Regions from separate parts of the Homo sapiens genome. Here region 2 is linked to region 1. Evidence: promoter capture Hi-C in human tissues and cell types (Jung and others, 2019). All regions are on one chromosome and are shown on one strand. The core of a region is centred on a gene start or on the middle of the fragment in contact, and the rest is flanking DNA. Distances in the headings are between cores, read along the strand shown. Region 1 holds the start of INSL4 (insulin like 4). Region 2 has its middle 8.1 kb from the start of RLN2.

Region 1 (6,122 bases), core at 2,138-4,637:
GGACCTGATAATGAGGTAGTAGCAGCTTCAGTTAGCCTGCAAACAAACAAACACAACTAGTAGAACCTCACTGACAGAGTATAAAATGTACTCTTTGATTTAGGATTTAGAGACACATAGGGAGGAGGTATGTGTAGCCAGAGGAATGCCAGTATTTGTGCCAATTCACCACTTTGATGAGGGGATGTGGAGTAATGCCAGGGACAAAAGAGGAGTTTATAGAATGATTGAAGGTCTAAAGGCAGCGTGCTGAGAGGCAGGTGGAGGATATGCATTGGGCAAAGTTCTAGGGAGGTCTCTGGGTTTACCCTAGGGTGAACATGCCTAATACCTCTCCCACCAGTTCATTCCTTCACTGCTTTTCCTCCGTACTATGAGCTGATGTTAGAGATGGTTAGATCCTTTATCTCTTACATTTCTTCTAGTGTGAAAAGAGGAAAAATGAAGAGACTTGAGTGAGTGTGTGTGAACGTATGTGTTTATGTGTGTAAAACTTTAAAAATTTATTTCCAGTAAGTTTGTAGTTCACATATTACAGTTATACACATTTTTGTAGTACATGTGATATTTTGATACGTGTATATAATGTGTAATGATCAAATCAGGGTAATTGGGATATGCATCCAAACTAACATTCATCTTTTTTGTGTTGGAATCATTACAATTCTCTTCTAGCTATTTTGGAATATACAGTGAATTATTGTTAAGTATAATTTCCCCATTGTACTATCAACTACTAGAACTTATTCCATCTATCTAACTTCCTCCATTTGGAGAGACTATATTAGTACAGAGCAAGTGAAACATGTGAATACTAATAATGATTCTCATGTTCTAATAAACAGCAATCATTTAATTGGGCATCAGTGAATTTGTCATTGAGAATACATATGAGAATGGATGAGATGTCCAGTCCATGATTACTCTACTATGTACATAATTTAACTGAAGTTCCATCGTCACAAATTACTTCACAACAGAATGGATCAAATCTGTGACGTCCACTTCTCTTTTTGCGGGAAAGTATTATTTTCTTCAATGATGGCTGCCCTTCAGACAGTGGTTTCTTCAGCTCTGGTGACAAATTAGGAATGAATTCTGATGTCGTACCTAAGGCTTGTCCATCTTTGTTGTTGGAGGTTGACACCATTTCTGTGAAGTAAAAGAGAGGAATGAAAGGTGAGGAAAAACATTCATGTGAAAGAGGATCAGAAAAATTATACAATTTGCCTAGACCACAATGTACCCATTGCCTCCATGTAATTAAACACCAGAGAGAATCAGCAAGTATCCTAACATTTCAACAACTTAGCTTACTTAGAGTAGGGCACTTTAAGATACTACAATATTAAGGATATGCTAACTCCTCATCCTGTCCCCTCTATGCACTCTTCTAATGACCCTCTAAATGCCTATACCATACCACTTTTGACTCTCCCTGACACTGTTTTGATTGATAACCTCAATGCATTATGTACTGGATAGCAATAGGGAATTTTTTTTATAATCACAAGTTATTCTAATAGAAAGATTCAGATATTCAAATCTGATCCACATAAATCTATACATCTATATCAGTGGATCTTAGCTAAAAGGCTGAGAAGCAACATACATCTATATGTGTCGACACCAAATGTTAACATTTGTTATCCATGAATACTTTCCATTTTTCTTGTTAAATTTATCTATATTTGTCAAAGTATTTAAATGAGGATTTTCACTTATTTACTGAAAAAAAGTGAAATTTAAATAGAAATTATAGTACAGCATGCTCTTCCTTAGTTTGCATTAGAAATTGTTTGGACTTTGTGGTATTCTTCCCTTATTTTATAGTAAAATGAAACAAGCTCTGACTAATAATGTAAAAAAAGGAAATAACTTTGAAATCGTTATATAAATCACACAAAATCCAAGTGCATTCACTGTGCACGATAACTTTAAACAGAGTCATTTAATGATTTAATGAAGTGTATGCATATGGGTTACAAGAAGCAGTTCTGGAGTCACACATTGCTGGTTCAAAACCTGTGTCATTTGTATTAAATGTAAAACAATGTTTAGTAATTTAACTTAGCTTTTCAGAACTTAATACGACCTATTAGACAGAATATAGTAGCCTCTATCTCTTTTCGAAACTGCCCCTGCTAGTTTTAACTTAGCTGGCAATTTATCTTTATGAATACCTTGTTACTTGGTAAAGTTTGAAAACTATCCTGGTATTGAACTTTCCTCAATTCTGAAATCTTGCTTTTAAAGAAAATGCTTTGCAGTCTCAAATGTTGAAAACACTAATCAAATCAGCTATGATGGTCTGAACAGTGAAATTCCCTTGTCTCTGGTCCCCTTCAATTTCCCCTCTAGTCATCCAGGCCACTTTCTTTCTCTTCATCTCATCTCTCTCAACACACTACAAGAGTAGATTCAAAGAAATGGGAGGCAAGGTGCTCTGTTGGTGTGCATTAAAAAAAACTTTTTTGTAAGAGGACGTTTTTGGTGACATAGACCACTGCCCAGCTTAATGACAAAGGATGAGAGTTATTAAATCTAAGCCCCCTTTATCTCACATTCCAGGAACCTAACAGAGGTCTCAGTGTGCTGCCCCTAGGCCAATAGGTGCATAAACAGAAATGATAATCAGCTCATCACCTCACTGTTTGTCCCCTTTCTTCTTAATTGAAGATGCCTGGCCCAGGCATCTCATTGCAATCACACCTGTTTTCTGGCCTGCCCAGCTTTCCTGGGGGTCTGGGAGTACACCTCACCTCCTGCTGGTGTTTGAGAATAGTCACCTTCTCTGAGGATTCCCTGTTTTCTCCACCCTGTATCTCTGGCTGCCAGGTGGGAAAGGCACCAAGAGCCTCCAAGGTGAGGCTGTTCTTCTGTTTTTCCTGCAGCTTCTCCTCTACCCCCAACTTCCCATGAGATTTCTGGTGAGACCCTTTTAATAAAAGCACATTACAATGAAAAACCACAAACTTGTAGGCACTAGCCACAGTAGAGTCTGAGTTGACTACAGGCAGTCAATGAGATCTGGAGCCTGTTTTTTCAGGCCTCATTCTGATTGTTTGGTAGTCCAGGGCTCTCACCTTTGGGACGTCCAGATTCCAGCAGCCACCCTCCTGGGGTGGTGGTGAATGTCTTCTCAGGCATGGGGCAATATGACAGCAAGTGTTTTCCAAATCGGGGACCACATCCCCTCAGCTCTGCTGCTAGGCTTTCTCTAAGGAGTTGGCTCAGCAGCAGCCAGATTGCTGGCAGATAGGACCGGAACAGGCTGGCCATCCTGGACCTGAACTCTCCTGTTCTGGGTGTTCTCAGCCTTTCTTTAGAGACTTGCTGCTGTAGCCTACCAGACTGTGCTGGTGTGTCCCTTCTGGGCTCCAGACTGCTTTCTGCATGCCTTCATCAGGCATTTATTTGCTTAGGGCTATTACTCAGCTTTTGCGTCAATGGTGTCAGTTCCACCCCTTTCCCACCCACCTACAAGGAACTTTCTCCCTCAGTTCTTATTTAGTCTCCCTACTTGCCCTACCCACACTCTCATATCCCTCTTTGCTCCCAATGTGCTGCTGCACTTTGCTTGTTTTGAATTTGGTTGTTCTACTTCTTTTTCTTAACTTTCCTCCTGTAATACTATTTTTATGCTTACTAAAATAATGGTAATTTTTAATGTCCTTTGCTTAGATGAAATAAAAATAGAACTGACCTGTAAGCTCATTGGCTAGAAATTATCTTAGTTAACATTTGGCATATAAGCTTTTAATTGCGGGGGTCTGTCCCACAGACCCTGACCCAACGACGGATGAATAACATACACTGACACAGATAGTTTGCCTGTCAGTCCAGCTGAGGGTCCGGGCCACCTACAGACACCAAGGAGGGTGCTGTAAAGAGTTGCAGCCGTGGCCCCGATCAGCCAGCAAAGCTCACATTTATTCAGCATAGATTAAATGACGAAGGTCTTGAGTAAACACCACTAGAAGGTAATTGACATTGCCAACCTCCCGAGTAGAGAGCAATTATGCACCCGCGGTTGATCAAAGATTAGTCTTAGGACCACATGAGTAAACAAACTAGATAAACTACATTCATTTGTATCTGTGCCTTAAGCTATTAACTCAAGGTAAGGATTAGGCTGCCTTCAGCCTGATCTATTACTGGAGCTTATACAAACCCCTCCGGCGTTTCAAAAAGGTTTGCGTCTTTTTCTTATAACTATCTGAAAAAATTTTCCCACCAGCCTGACTGAACTCTCACATCTCCCCCCTTTCTGTTCTTTGCATCGGGTTCTGTTGACTTAAGAGTACAGATGTGTGCAGCAACAGGTTTGTTAGGTTTTGCTTTTATTCCGGCTTTGCATCATAGAATTAGCAAATAACGTAAGACAATCATGAGTATAATTAGTAACATTCCTTTCCAGTCAAAGTGTGACCCCCAGGATCGGGGGTATAACCAGGAGAAATGATCTTGCACACCTTTCCATATGGCTGTTTGTTGAGTATGTAGATCTATCATGTGAAGGGATTCTAAAATTTTAGTTTTAAGTTGCTTTACGTCTGCTGTTAAATTGTCATGAAAGTTTCCCCAGAGGTGTTGTTTCACCTCATCCCAACTATGTATTGATTGATTCCAAGGTAAAAATGTGACACAGATATGTTTATGCTCCCAGTCACAGTTTAATTGCTATCAGAATGCTAGGGCATCTTGTCGCTCCCCCACAAATTCCAAGGCAGCCTCGAGGGCTTGCAGACGTGCAAGAATCTCTTGATCTATACCCTGCTGTAAGAGAAGTTCATTAGACACATTTCTGGCCAAATTGTCTACAAAAGCAGCTGTTTGCACTGATTCGGTAGTAGATGCTATAGCCACACTAGCAGTTGCTAGGATGACTATGGCTGAGACTATAAAGGTTATAAGTGTGCCTATAAATCTTTTGGGTCTGACCTGGGATAGGGCACATTCTAAGGTGGCAAAGGAAGAGGAACCTTGCCAATAGTGTGTCAAATTGACGGGTAGGAATGCCTCAGATTGTCTCCTTAATACCATGACACTAGTAGTATTTAAATTAGATATATTGTAATTAGTGGTACATGAGGCAAACAAAGCCTGTCCTTGCACCCGGGTCACAAACATGGAATTTTGGGTTGTAATAGAAATATTAGTTCCCATAAGGAAAACATATGGATGGAGTTGCAAATTAGGGACTGATCAGTGTGATTATGAATAAAGGTTATAGTATAGTTGTTACTGTAATTATGATATGTCCCATGCCAGGTGTCAAGGGAGGTGCTAAGATGTCCCAGGCAACATAAAGTGTCTTGGGGAGGCATCAACTTTACTCGGGGTCTGGGATATCCTATCCTCCCATCGGCCCAAATCATAAGGGAATGGGACGAGGCTATGAAACTGTGATCGATGCCATGATGGATGAGGATATCAGTAAGGCTGCCCTACAAATGGCCACAGGGGCTCCAGTCTAGGATGTTATAATTGCCTAACTGGAGGCTATGAGCTTATTCCCCATGACAGATCTCCCAGCTAAAGTGGAATCCGTTATTTTTCCGGCTTTGTTCTTTAGCACAGGAAGGAATGTTTGGGAAAGCAGACTTGATTTCCGTTTTGAGGCTACCTGCAGCTAAGACTGTTAAGGCACTTCTTTTGCCATGATGTAGCCATAATTGTGTTTCAGTAGGTGCACACTAAGGGTTAGAACATTTATAATTTACACACAATGGGAGGATAGTAGAGTGATCTGTAGTGTTATCTGGCACCTTAGTCCAATGTGTGCCATTATTGAGGAACCCCACTGGGGGTAAATCTATCCCTCCTAGCTAAGCAGTCACGTTATTAAAGGCTGGGAAGGGGTTGTATACCCAAGTGACAGGGCAAAAGAAAAGTGGATCTAAGATATGAGCCCAATAGAGTGTAGACATTGCCACCCTCCCGAGTAGAGAGCAATTATGCACCTGCGGTTGATCAAAGGTTGGTCTTAAGACCACATGTGTAAACAAGCTATTTAGATAAACTACTATACATTCCTTTGTATCTGTGCCCTAAGCTATTAACTCAAGGTAAGGATTAGGCTGCCTCCAGCCTGATCTATTACTGGAGCTTATGCAACA
Region 2 (6,141 bases), core at 1,999-4,498, 65 kb before region 1:
TTTTATTGATATTAACTCTTAGATTGGATATAGATAAAGCCATAAAACTTGACCTTTCCTAATAGATTACAAAAGGTTTTTGTGTCATATTGAAATACTCATTGCAAACAATCGGATTGGACACTAAACCAATGTAATTTAGTTAAGACCATATAAACTCAAACGCTTTTTTTTCCTTTTTAATTTCCTTTTTTTCTAGTATAGTCTGAAGGGAACTCAAGTACTTTTCAAGCTAGGGTTCTGTTCTCAGTTCCAGTGTCTAAGAAACTTAAAAGTAAATTATTTTTTAAGGATAAAAAGGAATAGACATAATATAGAACAGAACAAACAAGTCCATATCATATATTACAGAAGAAATAGTATAATGAAGGAACATAATTTATGTTCACTTCTTTAGAATTTGCAAACTATTTCTGTAAGCAAAATTACTGAAATAGTATGAACACTTGTTAGAAAAGTAAACTGACGTAGTTATCAACTTAGTATTTTACTGGTTCTGTCTATTTTTTTTCTTTTTTAAAAATTATACTTTAAGTTCTTGGTTACATGTGCAGAACGTGCAGGTTTGTTACATAGATATACATGTTCCATGGTGGTTTGCTTCACCCATCAACCCATCACCTACAGTAGGTATTTCTCCAATGCTATCCCTCCCCTAGCCCCCCACCCCCAAACAGGCCACGGTGTGTGATATTCCCCTCCCTGTGTCCATGTGTTCTCATTGTTCAACTCCCATTTATGAGTGAGAACATGTGGTGTTTGGTTTTCTGATCTTGTGATAGTTTGCTGAGAATGATGGTTTCCAGCTTCATCCATGACCCTGCAAAGGACATAAACTCATCCTTTTTTATGGCTGCATAGTATTCCATGGTGTATATGTGCCACGTTTTCTTAATCCAGTCTATCATTGATGGACATTTGGGTTGGTTCCAAGTCTTTGCTATTGTGAATAGTGACGCAATAAACACATGTGCAAATGTCTTTATTGTAGAATGATTTATAATCCTTTGGGCATATGCCCAGTAATGGGATTGCTGGGTCAAATGGTATTTCTAGTTCTAGATCCTGGAGGAATCACCACACTGTCTTCCACAGTGGTTGAACTAATTTACACTCCCACCAACAGTGTAAAAGCATTCCTACTTATCCACAGCCTCTCCAGCATCAGTTGTTTCCTGACATTTTAATGATCGCCATTCTAACTGGCATGAGATGGTATCTCATTGTGGTTTTGATTTGCATTTCTCTAATGACCTGTGATGATGAGTATTTTTTCATGTCTGTTGGCTGCATAAATGTCTTCTTTTGAGAAGTATCTGTTCATATCCTTTGCCCACTTTTTGATGGGGTTTTTTTTTTTGTGAAGTTGTTTAAGTTCTTGGTAGATTCTGGATATTAGGCCTTTGTCAGATGGACAGATTGCAAAAATTTTCTCCCATTCTGTATGTTGCCTGTTCACTCTGATGATAGTTTCATTTGCTGTCCAGAAGCTCTTTAGTTTAATGTGATCCCTTTTGTCAATTTTAGCTTTTGTTGCCATTGCTTTTGGTGTTTCAGTCATGAAGTCTTTGCCCATGCATATGTCCTGAATGGAATTGCCCAGGTTTTCTTCTAGGATTTTTATGGCCCTAGGTCTTACGTTTAAGTCTTTAATCCGTCTTGAGTTGATTTTTGTATAAGGTAAGGAAGGGGTCCAGTTTCAGTTTTCTCCATATGGCTAGCCAGTTTTCCAAACACCATTTATTAAATAGGGAATTCTTTCCCCATTGCTTGTTTTTGTCAGGTTTGTTGAAGATCAGATGGTTCTAGATGTGTGGTTTATTTCTGAGGCCTCCATTCTGTTCCATTCATCTATATATCTGTTTTGGTACCAGTACCATGTTGTTTTGGTTATTGTAGCCTTGTAGTATAGTTTGAAGTCAGATAGTGCGATGCCTCCAGTTTTGTCCTTGTTGCCCAGGATTGTCTTGGCTATGCGGGCTCTTTTTTGGTTCCATATGAAGTTTAAAGTAGTTTTTTCCAATTCTGTGAAGAAAGTCAATGGTAGCTTGATGGGGATAGCATTGAATGTATAAATTTCTTTGGGCAATATGGCCATTGTCATGATATTGATTCTTTGTATCCACGAGCATGGAATGCTTTTCCATTTGTTTGTATCCTCTCTTATATCCTTGAGCAGTGGTTTGTAGTTCTCTTTGAACAGGTACTTCACCTCCCTTGTAAGTTGTATTCCTAGGTATTTTATTTTCTTAGTAGCAATTGTGAATGGGAGTTTACTCATGATTTGGCTCTCTGTTTGTCTGTTATTGGTGTATACGAATGCTTGTGATTTTTGCACATTGATTTTGTATCCTGAGACGTTGCTGAAGTTGCTTATCAGCTTAAGGGGTTTTTGGGCTGAAACAATGGGGTTTTCTAAATATACAGTCACGTCATCTGCCAACAGAGACAATTTGACTTCCTCTCTTCCTGTTCGAATACCTGTACTGCTTTCTCTTGCCTGATTGCCCTGGCCAGAACTTCCAGTACTGTGTTAAATAGGAGTGATGAGTGAAGGCATCCTTGTCTTGTGCCAGTTTTCAAAGGGAATGCTTCCAGCTCTTGCCAATTCAGTATGATATTGGCTGTGGGTTTGTCATAAATAGCTCCTATTATTTTGAGATATGTTCTATCAATACCTGTTTATTGAGTTTTTAGCATGAAGTGGTGTTGAATTCTATTGAAGGCCTTTTCTGCATCTATTGAGATAATCGTGTGGTTTTTGTCATTGGTTCTGTTTATGTGATGGATTATGTTTATTGATTTGTGTATGTTGAACCAGCCTTGCATCCCAGGTATGAAGCCAACTTGGTCATGGTGGATAAGCTTTTTGATGTGCTGCTGGATTCAGTTTGCCAGTATTTTATTGAGGATTTTCTCATTGATGTTCATTAGGGATATTGGCCTGCAATTTCCTTTTTTTGTTGTATCTCTGCCAGGTTTTGGTATCAGGATGATGCTGTCTTCATAAAATGAGTTAGGGAGGATTCTTTCTTTTTCTATTGTTTGGAATAGTTTCAGAAGGAATGGTACCAGCTCCTCTTTGTACCTCTGCTAGAATTTGGCTGTGAATCCATCTGGTCCTGGACTTCTTTTGGTTGGTAAGCTATTAATTACTGCCTCAATTTCTGACCTTGTTATTGGTTTATTCAGGGGTTCAACTTCTTTCTGGCTTAGACTTGGGAGGGTGTTTGTGTCCAGTTATTTATCCATTTCTTCTAGATTTTCTAGTTTATTTGTGTGGAAGTGTTTATAGTATTCTCTGATGGTAGTTTGTATTTCTGTGAGATCAGTGGTGATATCCCCTATGTCATTTTTTATTGTGTCTATTTGATTCTTCTCTATTTCTTCTTTATTAGTCTGGCTAGCGGTCTATCTATTTTGTTGAGTTTTTTCAAAAAACCAGCTCCTGGATTCATTGATTTTTTGAAGGGTGTTTCATGTCTCTATCTCCTTCAGTTCTGCTCTGATGTTAGTTATTTCATGTCTTCTGCTAGCTTTTGAATTTGTTTGCTGTTGCTTCTCTAGTTCTTTTATTTTTAATATTAGGATATCAATTTTAGATCTTTCCTGCTTTCTCTTGTGGGCATTTAGTGCTATAAATTTCCCTCTACACACTGCTTTAAATGTGTCCCAGAGAGTCTGTTACTTTGTGTCTTCATTCTCATTGGTTTCAAAGAACATTTTTATTTCTGCCTTCATTTCATTATTTACTCAGTAGTCATTCAGGAGCAGATTGTTCAGTTTTTTTGTAATTGTGTGGTTTTGAGTGAGTTTCTTAATCCTGAGTTCTAATTTGATTGCACTGTGGTCTGAGAGACTGTTTGTTATGATTTCCATTCTTTTCTATTGGCTGAGGAGTGTTTTACTTCCAATTATGTGGTCAATTTTAGAATAACTGCGATGAGGTGCTGAGAAGAATGTGTATTCTTTTGATTTGGGGTGCAGAGTTCTGTAGATGTCTATTAGGTCCGCTTGGTCCAGAGCTGAGTTCAAGTCCTGAATATCCTTGTTAATTTTCTGTCTTGTTGGTCTGTCTAATATTGACAGTGGGGTGTTAAAGTCTCCCACTATTATTGTGTGGGAGTCTAAGTCTCTTTGCGGGTCTCTAAAAACTTGCTTTATGAATCTGGGTTCTTCTGTATTGGATACATATATATTTAGGATAGTTAGCTCTTCTTGGTGAATTGATCCCTTTACCATTATGCAATGCCCTTCTTTGTCTCTTTTGATCTTTGTTGGTTTAAAGTCTGTTTTATCAGAGATTAGGATTGCAACTCCTGCTTTTTTTTTTTTTTTGCTTTCCATTTGCTTGGTAAATATTCCTCCATCCCTTTATTTTGAGCCTATGTGTGTCTTTGCACGTCAGATGGGTCTCCTGAAGACAGCACACTGATGGGTCTTGACTCTTTATCCAATTTGCCAGTCTGTGTCTTTTAATTGGGGCATTTAGCCCATTTACATTTAAGATTAATATTGTTATGTGTGAATTTGATCCTGTCATTATGATGCTAGCTGGTTGTTTTGCCTGTTAGTTGATGCAGTTTCTTCATAGCATCGATGTTCTTTATAATTTGTCATGTTTTTGCAGTGGCTGGTACCAGTTGTTCCTTTCCATGTTTAGTGCTGCCTTCAGGAATTCTTGTAAGGCAGGTCTGGTGGTGACAAAATCCCTCAGCATCTGCTTGTCTGTAAAGGATTTTATTTCTCCCTCCTTTATGAAGCTTAGTTTGGCTGGATATGAAATTATGGTTTGAAAATTCTTTTCTTTGAGAACGTCGAATATTGGTCCCTACTCTTTACTGGCTTGTAGGGTTTCTGCAGAGAGATCCACTGTTAGTCTGATGGGTCTCCCTTTGTGGGTAACCTGACCTTTCTCTCTGGCTGCCCCAATATTTCTCTCTGGCTGCCCTTAACATTTTTTCCTTCATTTCAACCTAGGTGAATCTGACAGTTATGTGTCTTGGGGTTGCTCTTCTCAAGGAGTATTTTGTGGTGGTCTCTGTATTTCCTGAATTTGAATGTTGGCCTGTCTTGCTAGGTTGGGGAAGTTCTGGATAATATCCTGAGATGTGTTTTCCAACTTGGTTCCATTCTCCCCTTCACTTTTAGGTACACCAATCAGACGTAGATTTTGTCTTTTCACATAGTCCCATATTTCTTGAAGACTTTGTTCATTCCTTTTTATTCTTTTTTCTCTAATCTTGTCTTCTCTCTTTATTTCAATGAGTTAATCTTCAATTACTGATATCCTTTCTTCCATTTGATCAATTCAGCTATTGGTACTTGTGTATTCTTCACAAAGTTCTCGTGCTGTGTTTTTCAGCTTCATCAGGTCATTTATGTTCTTCTCTACATTGATTATTCCAGTTAGCAATTCAACTAACCTTTATTCAAGGCTCTTAGCTTCCTTGTATTGAGTTAGAACATGCTCCTTTAGCTTGGAGGAGTTTGTTATTACCCACCTTCTGAAGCCTACTTCTATCAGTTTGTCAAACTCATTCTCCATCCAGTTTTGTTCCTTGCTGGCAAGGAGTTGTGATCCTTTGGATGAGGAGAGGCATTCTGGTTTTTGGAATTTTCAGCCTTTTGCACTGGTTTTTCCCCATCTTTGTGGATTTATCTACCTTTGGTCTTTGATATTAGCGACCTTCAGATGGGGTCTTTGAGTGGGTGTGCTAATCCTTTCTGTTTATTTCTTTTCCTTCTAACAGTCAGGCCCCCTCTGCTGCCAGTCTGCTGGAGTTTGCTGGAGGTCCACTCCCAGTCCTGTTTGCCTGGGTATCACCAGCAGAGACTGCAGAGCAGCAAAGATTACTGCCTGTTCTTTCCTCTGGAAGTTTCGACCCAGAGGGGCACCTCCCAGATGCCAGCCAGAGGTCTCCTGTATGAGATGTCTGTTGGCCCCTATTGGGAGGTGTGTCCCAGTCAGTATACATAGGGGTCAGGGACCCACTTGAGGAGGCAGTCTGACCCTTAGCAGAGCTTGAACGCTGTGCTGGGAAGTCCACTGCTCTCTTCAGAGCCATCAGGCAGGGATGTTTAAGTATGCTATAAGCCCCTGACTGGGGCTGCTGCCTGTTTTACAGAGATGCCCTGTCC

Evidence for each region. Contacts are between HindIII fragments. The study calls those that stand out against the background at their distance.
Region 2: a contact is called between a fragment that was not itself captured here and the fragment with the promoter of INSL4 in region 1, in 2 of the 25 tissues and cell types used here (IMR-90 fibroblasts and aorta).

What each region holds. Positions count from the first base shown.
Region 1 is chr9:5,228,684-5,234,805 of GRCh38, reverse strand. INSL4 (insulin like 4) reads right to left here and starts at 3,387. Exons shown (of 2, transcript NM_002195.2): 1 at 3,087-3,387; 2 at 1-1,152. The coding sequence starts at 3,282. The coding sequence ends at 929. RefSeq lists a promoter at 3,293-4,110. The HindIII fragment of the contact is 9,700 bases long and covers 1-6,122 here.
Region 2 is chr9:5,293,538-5,299,678 of GRCh38, reverse strand. No RefSeq gene overlaps it. Among named protein-coding and RNA genes, the nearest start is that of RLN2, 8.1 kb to the left of the region's middle. RefSeq lists an enhancer at 5,883-6,141. The HindIII fragment of the contact is 5,390 bases long and covers 554-5,943 here.